Linked DNA regions of Homo sapiens: region 1 is linked to region 2. The links are contacts of gene promoters, found by promoter capture Hi-C in human tissues and cell types (Jung and others, 2019). All regions are on one chromosome and are shown on one strand. Each heading gives the region's core, a stretch centred on a gene start or on the middle of the fragment in contact. The rest is flanking DNA. Distances are from core to core; before and after follow the strand shown. Region 1 overlaps E2F7 (E2F transcription factor 7). Region 2 holds the start of NAV3 (neuron navigator 3).

Region 1 (4,819 bases), core at 1,450-3,949, 770 kb after region 2:
CCAGAGCTAATATATACACTTGACTGTGTATATTGTTTGAGATAACATGATCAAAGCTGTATCGGACACAGGAGCAGGACTAGAACCAAGACAACGAAGACCTTTCTTTGGCAGCATGAACTAGTTTACCTATAGTCAGTGTGCTGGTGTTATTAGTAATAATAATGAACATTTGTATAGCACTTCACAGATGACAGAGTGCTTTTACCTTCTGAGCTCATTATCACAGCAACTCTATGGTAGGTAAGCCAAGGTATATTACCTCTATTTATATATAAGAACTAGAGGGCCGTTTCACAGGACACTCTAATGGAGGGAGTGATTTCCAGGGTGTTGCAGGTTAGATTTCCTGAAGCAGATCTTACCCAGAGGTTAAGTGTGCAGGAGGTTTTTAGGAAGTACTCTTGGGATCAATGCCTAGGGAAGGGACAGGAAGGCATGGAATTGGACAGAAGGAAAAGTGGAGCTGCAATACAGTCACAGTGGAAATGACCCTCTGGGGAGTTCTAGGGCAGCCATCAGAGGAGTCCAGAGTTGGGGCAAGGAGGCCTGGCTTTTTTTTTTTTTTTTTTTTTTGAGACAGAATCTCGCTGTCACCCAGGCTGGAGTGCAATGGCATGATCTCAGCTCACTGCAAGCTCTGCCTCCTGGGTTCACGCTATTCTCCTGCCTCAGCCTCCAGAGTAGCTGGGACTACAGGCGCCCGCCACCACGCCCAGCTAATTTTTGTTTTTGTATTTTCAGTAGAGACAAAGTTTCACCGTGTTAGCCAGGATGGTCTCGATCTCCTGACCTCGTGATCCGCCTGCCTTGGCCTCCCAGAGTCCTGGCTTTTATATGTCTGTGCTACTTCTACCAGCCAATGAGTACAGGAGAGGCTTCCCAGGAAGTGGTGTGATCTTGGACAAGTCAGCTGTCTTCAGCCAAAGCAGTCCAGTTATGGGATGACTGTTGGCATTACTTCTAGCAGCTGGGGAATGAGTCATGTCTGAAGAGATCAGGGTACATCCCAGCATCCACTCCACAGCTAAGCAGCCTTGCTAGAAAACCTTGGAGATAGATACTTTCATCTAAATTCCTCATTTTATACCTACGGAAATCTGGGCCCAGACAGAATGAACAGTTATCCAGGATCAAAAAGATACAAACAGCTGGGACACAAATCAGGTTTCCATTGCAGTGCCCTTTCCACAGCCGTATATGCTGTCAGCATAGCAGGACAGACAGATGGAGCAAGGTGTGACTAGATTGCAGTTGACTTTCTGTCCACCTGACACCTTAGAAAACAATTGGGTTGGCATTTTTTTTTCTTGATGTAGAGGTGTAATACAATCATAACCTACCACATGACCTAGCTCCCCTCCTACTTTAAGTATTCAGTAAACTACAGTGAAAATATATCAAAATATATGAAGAAATAATCCATTCTCAGTTGCTCCCTCGCTAAAGTAACTCTTTTGGAAGCAATGGAGAAGGCATGTAAATCTCTGTCCACCCAGCATGCCTGGACCACACCCTCCACCATGAGGATACCTTTTGGAATAACTCATCAAAGCACAGTGTTCTTTGAGTATCTGCAGTGGGCAACGCATTGTGCCAAAAATTGCGATGAACAAGACATGTGGAACTTGCTTCTTGACCTTTTCAAGGGCACAGTCTTGTTACTGAGACAAGACACACATCCTGGAAGTTAAATAGCAATATGATGTGCTGTAGTATATTTAGCTCGAAATGCCAGAGTGAATGGTAATAAAGAATAGAAAAGAGGGAAAAGATAATAGCTAAGTTTTATCGAGCGCTCACTATATGCCAGGAACTAATCTCATAACCCTTGAGATTGGTATTTTTATGAACTTCATTTTCGGTTGAGAGAAATAAAGTATAGTGAGGTACAGGAACTTGCCACACTCACCCCTGCTGATAAGCAGCAGGGGTAGGTTAACTGGCCCTACATCCTGTGTATATAACTATTTCCCCATGCTGCCTCTCGCTAGGTACTAGTGGGGATCAGTGGCCTGCTGGGTACCTTTGGTTGGAGCTGTGGAAAAGATAACTTCCTCCCAGTTTGTGCCCAGGACACAGGCTCATTTTTAAGTGTAGAATTTCAGAAAGTTCTGCCTTCAGCTGTTTCTTGCATACCGATGATTTTACACTGAATGAGGTCATAGGTGACCTCAGCCAAGTTATTTGACTTCTCTGTGCCTCAGTTTCTTCATCTATACAACGGAAAAATATTAGTGCCTATGTCACAGGATTGGATGAGGAGTCAATACATGCAAAATACATGAAACAGAGCGTGGCACATAGTAATCAGTAATTTCCCTTGAGAGTTCACCTGTAGAAGCCTTTATCAGAATAGCACACTAACAGGGACTTGTTAAAAGAGGTGGGTAGATGCAGCATTCTGGGCCGAGTACTTACTGTAGTATGAGAAATCGCCACTTCCACTGACTCCTCTCCTTCCTCTTATACTAGGACCGAATGTTGCCATGGCTAGCATGCAGCTTCTGCTGATCCAAGGAGCAAGAGTTGCCTTGCCTACACAAACTCCAGTTTCTCCCAATATTTTACCTCTTCACACGTTGCTCATTTATAGGAAAACACTTACTGTAACCCCCTGCTCAACCAAAACCCAAGCATTCAGTAGCTATACAGAATGTACAGGGAAGGAGTGACTGAGAACTCATCTACCTTTGTAATTATATGACACACTATTGACTGGAAAGGAATACTACAGAAAGAGCAGAATCTTTCTGTTTTTGAATATTGAATTATCGAATTCTCATATTGAATTTTTGAAACTTTTTTAGGGGAAAGATACGTTTTAATTACTTGTTAGTTCCAAAGGTGGATTCTATATACTTAGTCCTTTTTTACAATGGGCCCATCGTTAGTCTTTTCTTAGAATTATTTAAGACAGTCTACATCAACGGGTGGTCTGGAGGCAGATGGTATTCCACAAACTATCACCAGGGTGCAAAAAATTAAGAACGGAACTTGAGAGTTAAGCACTTAAAAACCTCAGTAGTCTAGATGTGGTGGCTCATGCCTGTAATCCTAGCACTTTGAGAGGCCAAGATGGGATGATTACTTGAAGCCAGGAGTTTGAGATGAACCTTGGTAACATAGTGAGACCCCGATCTCTACAAAAAATTAAAAAAGGCCAGGCCTGGTGTCTCATGCCTGTAATTCTAGCACTTTGGGAGGCTGAGGCAGGAGAATCACTTGAAGCCAGAAGTTCAAGACCAGCCTGGGCAACATGGCAAGACCCCGTCTCCACACAAAATTTTAAAAATTAGCTGGGTGCAGTGGTGTGCACACCACTGTAGTATGCACACCACTGGAAATCCCAGCACTTTGGGAGGCTGAGGTGGGAAGATCACTTGAACCCAGGAGTTTGAGGCTGCAGTTAGCTGTGATCATGCCACTGCCCTCCAGCCTGGGTTACAGAGTGAGACCCTATCTCCAAAAAATAAAATATAAGTATTTGGGTGTAGTGGTGCATGTCTGTGGTCCCAGCTACTTGGGAGGCTAAGGCGAGAAGATTGCACGTGCCCAGGAGTTTGAGGCTATAGTGAATTATGATCACACCACTGTACTCAGGCTGGGCAACAGAGTGAGACCCTATCTTTTAAAAAAAAAAAAAAAGTAAGAAAAATAAACCTCAGTAGCAATTCAGTATTGCCACCATATCTAAGCTTATGATTAGTGGTCTCTTCTTGTTGAAGAAGCTGTGGGTCAGTTTGAGTGACAAACTCAAATGGCAAATCACATCTGGTGGGAGTTGTGTTGCACATTAGTCCTGTGAAGTAAGGTCACATATCAGTTTGCAGGAGTTTGGAAATCTAAAAAAACGAGTCCTTTACCATGGGTAGTTTGAGATGCACTGCTCTGGAGAATGACGTTAGAGAGCTCTCTAGGTTGGCTTAAAATGTGGGATTTTGTTGGATGCTCTTCCATTAACTGGTCCTGCTACTAAGTGCTGTATTAGCACTGGTGCACATTGAACTACAGAAGCATTGTTGCTCTTCACTAGTCAATGCAAACTTGTAAGTAGTGTTTTAAAAAAGGTGACACTTAGAAACAATATGGACTCAACCCACATTGGCCCTCATAGTCCTCATCTGTTATAAACATGCAACAGTAACAGATACGTTGTGATTTCTTTTACAGAGATACCATGAAAGATAGGTGTAAAAGGAGTAGCAGAGTATAATCTACTTCTCATTGGAGCCACTCTTCTATTCCCATGACTACTTTTCGTTAGTCCTATCCTGATACTTTTCAGCCCTAAACATATGGTCCTATTTGTATTTTCAAGTCTTAGTGAATGGTGGGAACAAAGTATACTCTTAGCTGATACCTGCCCTTTCTCATTCTTGCTAAAAGTTTCTTTTTTAAAATAGGAAAATATATTTGTTGATCGATCAAGGATGGCCCCGAAGACTCCAATAAAAAATGAACCAATTGATTTATCGAAGCAAAAAAAATTTACTCCAGAAAGAAATCCCATTACTCCAGTTAAGTTTGTTGACAGACAGCAAGCGGAACCATGGACACCCACAGCTAACCTGAAGATGCTCATTAGTGCTGCCAGCCCAGATATAAGGGACCGGGAGAAGAAAAAGGGACTATTCCGACCCATTGAAAACAAGGACGATGCATTTACAGATTCTCTACAGGTAAACAGACTGTGCTCCTCAGGGATTTTTTAGAACTTAAACAATTTTACTTGATTATTAAAAAATCATAGAACTGTCAACTTTTCAGCTCCTATTGAGCCAAAAGCAGTGGCAAACTGAATATCTTTTGATTTGTA
Region 2 (4,207 bases), core at 727-3,226:
TTGGAAAGCTTGACATCATAGTTAATGCTGCATTAAAAAGTGATGCTGAGTAGAATGATGGTTACCAGAGGCTGGAAAGGGTAGTGGCGAGGGGTAGGGGGAGTGTGGATCGTTAATGAGTACAAAAATACATTTAGATAGAATGAATAAGATCTAGTATTTGATAGCACTATAGGATGATTACTGTCAACAATAACTTATTCTATATTTTTAAATAACTAAAAGAATATATAATGTTTGCAACACAAAGACATGATAAATGCTTAAGGCAACAGATACTCCATTTACCCTGATATGATTATTACACATTGTATGCCTGTATCAGAATCTCTCATGAACCACATAAATATATACACCAATATGTACCCATAAATATATACACCTAATATGTACCAATAAAAGTAAAAATGCACAAAACAAAAGTGACGCTTATCAAGGTACAAATGAATCCGCATGAAGTTCAGCAGCTTCAGTGCCATTCTAGCATGCGTGACTGGAGAAAACGGTTGTAGTATGCTTTAGAAACCAAGGGCTATGAGCAACTACTCACAAAATATCATAAATTAAATGACTGAAAAAGATGTCAGTAATAAGTAAAAGAGTAGCGTTTCAGTTTACAAGGGAAAGTCCATATAAATGTGCAGTATCAAGGAAAATAGTATGTCATTTTCCTTCATACTGCAATGAATTAAGCAGCCTATGATACAAATTTTCAAGCAGAAATTCTTTGAAATGCAAATGACATTTAGAGAAAAGTGATGGTGTCTATATGAATTATTACAAATAAATGTCTTTTTGAAAGTACCTATTTTCATACATTGCAGTATGGATGACAATAGGTTCTCTTTTTCTCACATTTGTGACTGATTATGATTATTAGTAATAGAGCAATATCTAGAACTAACTAGGCATTCATCAATAAGTAGTATTAAATGATTACAATAGATGCATATTCAGAAAATTTTGATCATGACTTTTACAACTCTAAACTAAGAATACAGTGTTTACATAAGCTAAATATTCAGCTTTTCAGCCATTATAACTACTTACATCCTTACACTGGTATTCCTCTACTACTCCCCATTTCATAACATGTTTTATAGTGCACTTAAAGAGAAATGTGCATTTTAGCTACACAAGTCTGCAGGTAACTTCAGCAACTAACCTTGCTGTCTTCTTTCTCCTTGGCTTTTCCTTGGAGGGGTTTCTTCTCTCCAAATTCACAGGTTGATTTTAACGCAAGCTGACAAGAAAGCATGGAGCTCTCTGTTTCAGTAAGTTCCAAAGGTCTTGAAGAACAGTGCTGTGACCCAGTAGTGCCAAGATTTGGTATCGGAAGAGCAGTATGCACAGGCTTTGACCCAACAGCTGGCTGCCTCAGTTTTGAGGCAACCCCAAGAACAGGCATGGCTTCTATAAAATTATCTTCTTGCTGCCAAAGAAAATGCTTCTAACCTCAGTCTGGTAGACTCCAACTTTAGTATTTCCAGAACAAATACTTTAAACAAAACTAGCAGTCATCCTGATTTTTAAAAAGCTAATAATATAATTTTCAGGAAGAGGCAAAACTTCCCTGCATCTTTAGTTAAGTATCTTTTCTTTCTTGCTGGCTGGGATTCATATTCATTCTCATTCTCTCTCTCTCTCTCTTTCTCTCTCTCTCTCTCTCTCTCTGTCTCTCTCTCTCTCTCTCTCTCTCTGTCTCTCTCTCTCTCTCTGTTCAGTGACTCAGTATCTAAGTAATACTAAATACTCCTTTGGGGAGTAAACTCTTCTTCAAGGTAACTGCTACAAAGCTCCTTCTTAGGATTAAAGAGCTCTTAGTTTTGCTTATTTTTTTTTCTCACTAAAGCAGTCTGAGTCTGAACTTTGAGATTGAAAAAGAGGAAAAAATCAAAAGGAAAAGCCCTTCAGTCCAACTGTCAGAGCAGCCAAAAGACCACAACAGTGGAAGGACAGGGGTTCTTCCTGATTTCAGAAATAGCCAGCCTGCATTCTCTTTTTAAAGAAAATTGTATTTCCCCCAGCTCAGAAAAAATAAAAAGAATGGACATGTTAATGGCCAAAACAAACAGCTGTTGGAAGAACTTTTAGCCCGGAAACAATCTCAGCAATAAAGTTGTTTGTCTGATTTCCAGCTATTTTTCACTACTGACAGCCATGAGCCACGATGTTCATTCTGTTGCATCCCATGAAATCAGGCTAAAATCATGCAATAGTGCAACTAGCTAAAGCAGTTAAATCATTCATCGGACCATAGCTGCCTAGGTTATGAAAATAGAGTAAACACAGGAAGCAGGGCACTAAATATGTAGTAATCATTGTTCCCAAATTTAATAAGTCATGATTATAAAAACATTCAAAGCTAACACTTATGTGGAATGTATTACAAAGCAGTTATGGAGCTAAGCATTTTATGCATTATCACATTTAATCATTGGAATGACTCAAAGTATAGGCATATTTATTTTCTTCACTTTATAGAAAGAACAGCTATGACTTGGAGACACTGAAAAAATTGACTAAAATGATGAAGCTAGAAAGGGGGAAAGAATGTATGATTTTAGTTTGTAAACCTGTCTTTTAAAATGGTTGAAAATAACACTGTTATTCAAGCTTATGACGTCCAACTTAAAATCCCAAGCTTCTAAAAACTGTCCAAACAGATACTCAGTGAGAATGAATGATGATGCTTCCATCCATAGAATTATTTTAATATAATCATAGCATGTTCTATTTCTGGTTAAAGCATGTCAGGAACTTTAAATAAACAAGGGGTAAACTTTTAAGAAAACATCTAATGTACCATGCATTATTGTTCTGAAACTGATTGCACTCAGAAAATGGATACAGAGAGCAATTATATACACCAAATATAAAAATTAGTAATAATGCAACCAAAGGTCTTAGAAAAATGAGTGGTGGACACTTAGTATAGACACAATGAATCATGGAAATTATTAAATCGTAACCATTTTTTATAGAAAATGTCTTTCTTTAGTGAAGAAATGGTCATCTTTGGCCTACTGTTTCCAGGTCTTTAAATCACTACGTACTTTTATCTAAGAAGCAGTAATTTATAGATGAAAGAGCCAATAACTAAAAGTATATGTTCTGCTGATGCAGCATAGAAGACAGGAAATGTAAGTTAGAAGTCTTGCAGGCTTTAAAAATAGTAACCCAAGTGGGCTTTACACAGCGGGGTAATACAAAACAAATACAACACTAGTGGTATCAAAGAAATGAAATAATCTCTCTGAGGAAGTAAGTTATTTTGCAATTTGCAAACCATTCAACACATTATAACTTTCAGAAACTATAAGGTAATACAGAGTTGGAGAGGTTCATGTTCGTAAAATGAGGTTTAGTTCATAATAAGACATATGCAACTTGTAATCCTCACAATGCAAAACAAAACAGCACCTAAATAATAGAACTTGTGGGAAAAATTGATTCTAGGAAGTTCACTCAAAACATATGCAACTTTGGGAGTATATTGCTAGCAAAAATAATATTGGCACCTCAGAAAATAATTTGGACCACTCAAGGAAGTGACTCAGAATTACATAAAAAAATAATTGGGTATAAATGCTGGCAACACTTTAACCAGAATTGGTGGAAGAAATCCGGTTGGAAGGCAAACTCCAAGCCAGTAGGCTTGCCATTGAAATGGGTACAGGGTCAGGGCAACTGCAAATATTTAAGAGCTGCACAAGGCCAGGGGCATGCCCCTTTGAAGAGGAAGCCCCAGATGCAGGCATTCATTTTTGTTTTTGTTTTTAGTTTTCTTAAAACTGAGCCAAAAGGGCTCCTGCTGACTATACAACATTCAAACTGAGGGCTTCTTTGCCCACCCAAGGTTATAATTCTACGCTGACTATTCTGCTTCCCTTTGCCTAGAATAAATTGTATATAAAGCTACACAACTTCTGCATTATACTAGTACAAAATTCCTGTTTGCCAATTACAAATGAGCTCATTGGTATTTTGGAAACATGCATTGGAGGAGAATGTATCGTAATTCCTGGAACAATTAGATTGAAAAAAAAGGATTCACATTCAATAAGATGTCTTTTCACTTTGAAATACCTTTTGCATATTAGGCAATATCTTTCACTCTGACTGAAATATAAGATGGTATTAGTAGCCACTGTCAACTAATTTTTTGCAGTAATATCTACCACCAAAAGCAACAAAACCAAACTAA

Evidence for each region. The method cuts DNA at HindIII sites, captures the fragments that hold promoters and counts their contacts. A contact is called where the count stands out against the background at its distance.
Region 1: a contact is called between a fragment that was not itself captured here and the fragment with the promoter of NAV3 in region 2, in 1 of the 25 tissues and cell types used here (heart left ventricle).

What each region holds. Positions count from the first base shown.
Region 1 is chr12:77,055,718-77,060,536 of GRCh38, reverse strand. E2F7 (E2F transcription factor 7) reads left to right here. Exons shown (of 13, transcript NM_203394.3): 3 at 4,407-4,682. Among named protein-coding and RNA genes, the nearest start is that of E2F7, 7.4 kb to the left of the region's middle. The HindIII fragment of the contact is 7,431 bases long and covers 1-4,819 here.
Region 2 is chr12:77,828,663-77,832,869 of GRCh38, reverse strand. NAV3 (neuron navigator 3) reads right to left here and starts at 1,976. Exons shown (of 40, transcript NM_001024383.2): 1 at 1,166-1,976. The coding sequence starts at 1,408. The HindIII fragment of the contact is 9,569 bases long and covers 1-4,207 here.